Regions from separate parts of the Homo sapiens genome. Here region 2 is linked to region 1. The links are contacts of gene promoters, found by promoter capture Hi-C in human tissues and cell types (Jung and others, 2019). All regions are on one chromosome and are shown on one strand. The core of a region is centred on a gene start or on the middle of the fragment in contact, and the rest is flanking DNA. Distances in the headings are between cores, read along the strand shown.

Region 1 (4,157 bases), core at 680-3,179:
TGTTGAAAGAAGGGAGTGGACCTGTATGTCCCGACATGGAAAGATGTCCATGATATAGTGTGACTTACAAGGTCAACCTGTGGAACAATATGTAGCATGAGATACATATATATGTATATATACGTATATATGAGATATATATATAAGCTCTCTTGTGCATATATATGTAAATCTATATGATATATATGTGTATATATCTATATCTATATATACAATATATCTATATATACATATCTCTCATGCTACATATTGACATATAGTATATCAATATATAGCGTATATATTGTATATATATCTCCATACTATATATAGATATCTATATCTCCATCTATCTATCCATCTATCTGTCCATCTATCTGCCTATCTCTCTATCTCTCTCTCTCTCTATCTGCCTATCTATCTATCTATCTATCTATCATCTATCTATCGGGCTTGTATAGCATAAAGGTAATGAGCACAGGGTATGGCACCAAAATGCCTGGGTTTGAATCTTGGCCCTGCCGCATACTAGCAGGGTGACCTTGGGAGAATCACTTCAGTTCTGTGTATCTCAGTGTCCTAATAATGAGAATTAGTGAGTTAACGTATATCAAGCACTTAGAATAGGGGCTAGCTCATAGTAAATACTATAGCAGTGTTAGCTACATAATAATAGAATTCCGTGTACCCTCAAGTGTCAAGAGTGGTCACCTTGAAGAGTGGATAGAGGTGGAGGTATAATAGGGAGACCCTCACTTCCTGCTTCACCTTTCTGTATTTTTTTTAACTCTATGAGAACCTGCATTACTTTCAACGTTTAGGAACAGTGAAATGAAATTATTGGCTGGGCGCAGTGGCTCACGCCTGTCATCCCAGCGCTTTGGGAGGCCGAGGTGGGTAGATCACTTGAGGTCGGGAGTTCAAGACCAGCCTGGCCAACATGGTGAAAACCTGTCTCTACTAAAAATACAAAAACTTAGCCAGGCCTGGTGGCATGCGCCTGTAGTCCCAGCTACTCAGGAAGCTGAGGCTTGAACCTGGGAGGTGGAGGTTGCAGTGAGCTGAGATCATGCCACTGCACTCCAGCACTCCGGCAGCAGAGTGAGACTCCGTCTCAAAAAAAAAAAAAAAAAAAAGAGGGCCTCTCACTGCTGGAGATGTGTGTATTTTCTAAGAAAAATGGTCTAGAAGGTATTTTTGAAGGATTAACTTGGCGTCCACAATTGAAACTGCATCCCTAAGAGGGAGGCTCTCCATTTTAACTGACAAACTTAGGGTGAGTCCGGGTCTGAAACAAGTGGAACACACAGCATGGCTCTTTCGCTTCAGGACGTAGAGAATGGCATGTAAGAACTAACCCAGTGCTGCTGCCATTACTCACAGTCCCAGAGGGGAAAGCAGTCATGTCTTCTGTCTGCACTCTGCAGACCTAACCCATCAGTTCTCAAACTCCTGTACGTGTCCCACAGTATCTGGACATGTCCATCCCATGCGTCTTGGTTGCCCACTGCCACCCTTTCTGTTCCCTGCAAGTCTTCCCATTAGTCTTTCTTCCCAGTGCTTCTTGAGAACACTCCTGACCCCTGACACTCCCATGTGGACACACAGGTGGCTCAGACTTCCCCAGTCCTCCCTGGGCTATCATTTTTCTGTTTCCTCAAATGAATGAAATATGAGGAGTGGAAAGGACAAGAATCTTACCTGGAAGGCTTTGTTTGAGGCTCCTTAATAAAAGAGGGCAAGGCGAAGAGAAAGAAGACCAGGACAGCCAGAAGCAAGGACCACTGGACGCCTTGGCTCAGGTGCCTGCATCTCCACAGGCAGGACCTCATGGTGGTGGGTCGGGTTCTAGAGGAAGGTTCTGCATGTCCTGGGGCCTTGATGTAGGCAGCTGGGAGTCTCACCGCTCAGGTTTCCTGGCCAGGAAGTGCACACCCTTTGTCTTAACAATGAGCCACTCCGGCAAGTGCTGAGTTTATCAGTCTCTGCCTGGGAAGGGAGGAACCGCCTTCACTGCTGTATGAAGGCTTATAAGCTGGCGTGGCTTAAAGGAAGGGAAACTCCTTGTGTTCAAACATGTTTACCTTCCTTTTTTGTCTTTGAAGCCAATATCTGAAAGTCAAGCTTTATGAGAAATATAACCACATTATATGCAGTCTCATCTTGGTCAGGTTACTTAACCCATCTGCCGCCATATAAATGGAAAAAAGCAGTTATCTTCCTTTTGGGATTATCATGAAGACACCTTGAGGCCACCATGCACAGGGCTTTGTTTGTGGTAGGCACCCAACACACATGTTCAACACTTTAGCTCAACCTTCTCTGTTTCTCTTCTGAAATCATGACCATTACAACAATGACCAGCACGTATGAGGGCTCACTCTGAGCTGGGCAGTGGGGAGTCTTCACAGGCACTCATGGAACCCTCACAGCCACTCTAGGGGCTGGGTACTGTCATCACCTCCATTTGACAGAGGAGGAAATGGCCTCCAAGAACAAGCTGCCAGCCCAAGAGCACATGGTGAGCCACTGGCTTGGGGTCCAGATCCAACTGACCTAGAGATTGCATTCTTTTTTTAAGAAATAGAGATGGGTCTCAGTATGTTGCCCAGGCTGGTCTCAAACTCCTGGACTTAAGTGATCCTCCCACCTCAGCCTCCCAAAGTGCTGGGATTACAGGCATCGGCCACCATGCCCAGCCATGATTGCATTTTTCTTTCTTTTTTTTTTTTGAGACATTCTCACTCGTTGCCAGCCTGGAGTGCAGTGGCGCAATCTTGGCTCACTGCAACCTCCGCCTCCCGGGCTCAAGTGATTCTCCTGCCTCAGCCTCCTGAGTAGCTGGGACTACAGGCACCCAACACCACACCCGGCTAATTTTTGTATTTTTAGTGGAGACGGGGTTTCACCATGCTGGCCAGGATGGTCTCGATCTTCTGACCTCATGATCCACCTGCCTCGGCCTCCCAAAGTGCTAGGATTACAGGTGTGAGCCACCGTGCCTGGCCGATTGCATTCGTATCCACTGCTTAGTAGCACCTACGAGAAATCATTAACTCTACCTTGATCAAAGCAATGCAAAACAAAACCCACATAATTCTTGGGAAAAAAAAGTACACCTCAGAGGAAAAACATCAAGACCATTTGTAGAAAACTTTAAAAATTCAGAGAAGCAGCCCTCCATAAAGTACTGTGAGTTAGTAATTTTATAAAAATATTGTCCAGGGTGTTGAACTGTGGGAGAGGTTTTGGAGCCTGGGCTCACTGTTCACACCTGGCGGTGGGCATTTCTCCTAACGTACAGTTTTCAGTTCTGTACACAAGGCTCTTGGCCTTCACCCATGGCACGCACCGATAAATGATTAAACCACCTTCCTCAAGGAGGACGAAAAAGGCAGGAACATACGTCTGAGCAGCTGAGGGTAATACAGACGACTGATGGTTTCCTTTATCCCCTACTGTACACTGCAACTCACAGCACTGTTTCAAGTCATGGTGGCAAGGAGAAACATCTCTGTTAGTACTGACTCAACCTCTCTCTTTCTCTCTCACCGTGCCTAACCTACAGATGCTCATATGTTAACTCTATAAACATTTTCTGAATTGATCTGTATCAAGTCATAACTCTTTGTCCTAACTGGCCCCTTATCCTGAGTTCCTTTATGCACTTGACATGTACAATTATATTCCTGTATCCTGGTGCCTGCTTGCAACGCTATGCAAATAAGTGCACAGTGAAAAGGCATGTTCTTACCCACAGTACTAGTGTGACTAAATAGAGTATCTCTTTCATCGTGCCCTGTGTTCTGAAGAAGGCACTGGCTGTCAGTGCTCGCTGCCTTCCGCAGGGCATGGAGATCCAGCTGAGCTCCTGGGTGCAAGCTGAGCTACTGTGGACAATCTGTCCCTCTCGCCACATTAGAGGCAGGTTGAACTTGAAGACCTTGTGGCCAACTGGTGTGGCAGGATAATCCAGAGTCCTAGTTTCCTGGTTCTCAGGTTCCAGCCCACTGCTGCTGTAGCATGTGCCTGGGCAGAATGTGGGATCCAGAGAAGTGTGTGTTTTAGGAGAAATTGACTTTCCAATTATTTTGTTTTTGCTTTTTGAGACAAGGCCTCTTTCTGTCATCCAGGCTGGAGTGCAGTGGTGCAATCATAGTTCACTGAAGCCTTGAATT
Region 2 (4,157 bases), core at 1,208-3,707, 530 kb before region 1:
AGACAACTCACAGAATGGGAGAAATATTTGCCAACTAGCTATCTGACGGGATTTAGTAATGGGAATATATAAGGAGCTCAAACAATTCTATGGGAAAAAAAATCTAATAATACAACCAAAAATGGGCAAAAGATCTGAATAGACATTTCTTAAAAGGCGATATACAAATGGCAAACAGATATATGAAAAGGTGCTCAACATCATTGATCATCAGAGATGCAAATCAAAATTATAATGAGGTATTTTCTCACCCCAGTTAAAATGGCTTTTATCCAAAGGACAGGCCATAACAAATGCTGGTGAGGATGTGGAGAAAAGGGTACCCTCGTACACTGTTGGTGGCAATGCGAATTAGTATAACTCCTATGGAACAGTATGGAGGTTCCTCAAAAAACTAAAAATAGAGCCACCAGGTGATCCAGCAATCCCACTGGTAGGTATATACCCAAAAGAAAGGAAATCAATATATTGAAAAGATATCTATACTCCCGTGTTTATTGCAGCACTATTCACAACAGCTAAGAATTGGAAGCAACCTGTGTCCCCACTCAAATCTCATCTTGAATTATAGTTCCCATAATCCCCATATGTCATGGGAGGGACCCAGTGGGAGGTAATTGAATGACAGGGGCGGATTTTTCTGTTTTTGTTTTGTTTTGTTTCTTTTGAGACGGAATCTCACTCTGTCACCCAGGCCGGAGTGCAGTGGCGTGATCTTGGCTCACTGCAACCTCCGCCTCTTGGGTTCATGTAATTCTCTGCCTCAGCCTCCTGAATAGCTGGGATTGCAGGTGCCCACCTCCATGCCTGGCTAATTATTTTAGGGGTAGGTTTTTCCTGTGCTCTTCTCGTGATAGTGAGTAAGTCTCATGAGATCTGATGGTTTCACAAAGGGCAGTTCCCCTGTACACACTTTCCTTGCCTGCCACCATGTAAGATGTGCCTTTTCTCCTCCTTCGCCTTCTTCCATGATTGTGAGGCCTCCCCAGCCACGTGAAACTGAGTCCATTAAACCTCTTTTTCTTTATAAATTACCCAGTCTTGGGTATTTCTTCACAGTGGTATGAAATGGACTAATACACTAAGTGTCCATCAACAAACAAATGGATAAAGAAAATGTGGTTCATATACACCTGGGAGTACTAGTCACCCATAAAAAAGAATGAGACCCTGTCATTTGCAATAACTTGGATGGAGCAGGAGGTCATTGTGTTACGTGAAATAAGCCAGGCACAGAAAGAAAAACTTCATGTGTTCTCACTTATTTGTGGGAGCTAAAACTTAAAAGAATGGAACTCATGGAGATAGAGAGCAGAGGCTGGGAAAAGTAATGGTGGGGAAAGAGGGAGAAGGGGGGCTGGTTAATGTGCACAAAAATATAATTAGCTAGAATGAATAAGACCTAGTATTTGATAGCACAATAGGGTGATTACAGTCAATAATAATTTATTGTACATTAAAAATAACTATGGGCGGCCGGGCGCAGTGGCTCACGCCTATAATCCCAGCACTTTGAGAGGCTGAGGCGGGCGGATCATGAGGTCAGGAGATCGAGACCAGCCTGGCTAACACGGTGAAACCCCATCTCCACTAAAAACACAAAAAATTAGCCAGGCATGGTGGCGGGGCGCCTGTAGTCCCAGCTACTCGGGAGGCTGAGGCAGGAGAATGGCATGAACCCGGGAGGTGGAGCTTGCAGTGAGCCAAGATCGCGCCACTGCACTCCAGCCTGGGCGAAGAGTGAGACTCCGTCTCAAAAAAAAAAAAAAAACTATGGGCCGGGCATGGTGGCTCACACCTGTAATCCCAACACTTTGGGAGGCCGAGGCGGGTAGATCACCTGAAGTCAGGAGTTCGAGACCAGCGTGGCCAACATGGTGAAACCCTGTCTCTACTAAAAATACAAAAATTAGCCAGGCGTGGTGGCGGGCACCTGTAATCCCAGCTACTCGGGAGGCTGAGGCAGGAGAATTGCTTGAACCCAGGAGGCGGAGGTTTCAGTGAGCCGAGATCATTCCACTGCACTCCAGCATGGGTGACACAGCGAGACTCCATATCAAAAAATAAAATAAATAAAAATAACTGAAAGAGTATAATTGGGCCGGGTGCAGTGGCTTACGCCTGTAATCCCAGCACTTTGAAAGGCTGAGGCAGGCGGATCACTTGAGGCTAGGAGTTCGAGACCAGCCTGGCCAACATGGCAAAACCATGTCTCTACTAAAAAATACAAAAATTAGCCAGACATGGTGGCAGGCGCCTGTAGTCCCAGCTACTCGGGAGGCTGAGGCAGGAGAATCGCTTGAACCTGGGAGGCGGAGGTCGCAGTGAGCATCTGAGATGGCACCACTGCACTCCAGCCTGGGCAACAGAGAGAGATGCTGTCTCAAAAAAAAAAAAAAAAAGAAAAGAAAAGAAAAAAAGAGTATAATTGGATTGTTTGTAACACAAAGAAAGGATAAGTGCTTGAGGTGATGGACACTCCATTTACCCTGATGTGATTATGCCTGTATCAAGATATCTCATGTAACCCATAAATATATATACCTACTACGTACCCACAAAAATTAAAAAAAGATTTTTAGAAATAAAAAGTAAACTATGGGCTTTAGTTAATAATAATGTATCAATCAATTTGTCCATCAGTTGTAGTAAATGTACCACACTCATTCAAGTTATTTATTTATTTAGAGACAGGGTCCAGCTCTGTCACCCAGGCTGGAGTTCAGTGGCCCAATCATAGCTCACTGCAACCTCGAGTGTGTGCCATCACACTCAGCTAATTATTTAATTGTTTTGTAGAGATGGGGTCTTGCTATATTGTCCAGGCTGGTCACAAACTCCTGGGCTCAATTAATCATCTCGCCTCAGCCTCCTAAAGCTCTGGGGTTACAGGCATAAGCCACCACTTCCGGCCTTGCTAGTTCTTAATAATAGTGGAAACTGAGGGACAGGGAGCAGGAGGAGATATATGACAACTCTATCCTTTCTGCATGATTTTTTTTTCTGTAAACCTGAAGCTGCTCTAAAACATGTCTGTTGGGCACAATAACTCACACCTGTAATCTCAGAGTTTTGGGAGGCCGAGGTGGGAGGATCATTTGAGGCCAGGAGTTCGAGACCAGCCTGGGCAACATAGCGAGACCCCATCTCTATAAAAAATAAAAAATTAGCCAGGCATGGTAGCATGTGCCTGTAGTCCCAGCTACTCAGGAGAATGAGGCAGGAGGATGGCTTGAGCCCAGGAGTTGGAGGCGGCAGTGAGCTATGACTGTGCCACTGCACTCCAGCTTGGGTGACAGAGCGAAGCCCTATCTCAAAAAAATAAAAAAAAGTCTAAGAAAAAAATTTTTAGGCCAGGTGCGGTGGCTCACGCCTGTAATCCAAGCACTTTGGGAAGCTGAGGCAAGTGGATCACGAGGTCAGGGGTTCGAGACCAGCCTAGCCAGCATGGTGAAACCCTGTCTCTACTAAAAATACAAAAATTAGCTGGGCATGGTGGCCTGCACCTGTAGTCCCAGCTACTCAGGAGGCTGAGGTGGAGAATCGCTTGAACCCGGGAGGTAGGAGGTTGCAGTGAGCTAAAATCATGCCACTGCACTCCAGCCTGGGCGACAGAGTGAGACTCTGTCTCAAAAAAAAAAAAATTTTTTTTTTAAATGACATCTCAGGTTAAAACTGCCTGTTTAATGCACTTTGTCCTTTTTCGTTTGCTTGTTTTTGAGATAGGGTCTAGCTCTGTTGCCCAGGCAGGAGTGCAGTGGGGGATCTTGGCTCACTGCAACCTCTGCCTCCCAGGCTTAAGCCATCCTCCCACCTCACCCTCCCAAGTATCTGGGACTACAGGCATGTGCCACCATGCCCGGCTAATTTTTGTATTTTTTTATAGAGACAGGGTTTCACCATGTTGCCCAGGCTGGTATAGAACTCCTGGGCTCAAAAGATCCTTTCACCTCAGCCTCCCAAATTGCTGGGATTATAGGCGTGAGCCACCATGCCCAGCCCTTTGTCCATTTTATATAATGATGTTCATATTTTCTTACTAAATTTTCAGAATTCTTTATATACTATTTTTTAATTTTTTTTTTTTTGAGACAGAGTCTCGCTCTGTCGCCCAGGCTGGAGTGCAGTGGTGCAATCTTGGCTCACTGCAAGCTCCA

Evidence for each region. The method cuts DNA at HindIII sites, captures the fragments that hold promoters and counts their contacts. A contact is called where the count stands out against the background at its distance.
Region 2: a fragment that was not itself captured here is called in contact with the fragment with the promoter of ST6GALNAC1 in region 1 in 2 of the 25 tissues and cell types used here (dorsolateral prefrontal cortex and stomach).

What each region holds. Positions count from the first base shown.
Region 1 is chr17:76,641,828-76,645,984 of GRCh38, forward strand. ST6GALNAC1 (ST6 N-acetylgalactosaminide alpha-2,6-sialyltransferase 1) reads right to left here and starts at 1,930. Exons shown (of 9, transcript NM_018414.5): 1 at 1,681-1,930. The coding sequence starts at 1,811. The HindIII fragment of the contact is 5,915 bases long and covers 1-3,300 here.
Region 2 is chr17:76,112,487-76,116,643 of GRCh38, forward strand. No RefSeq gene overlaps it. Among named protein-coding and RNA genes, the nearest start is that of EXOC7, 11 kb to the left of the region's middle. The HindIII fragment of the contact is 8,353 bases long and covers 1-4,157 here.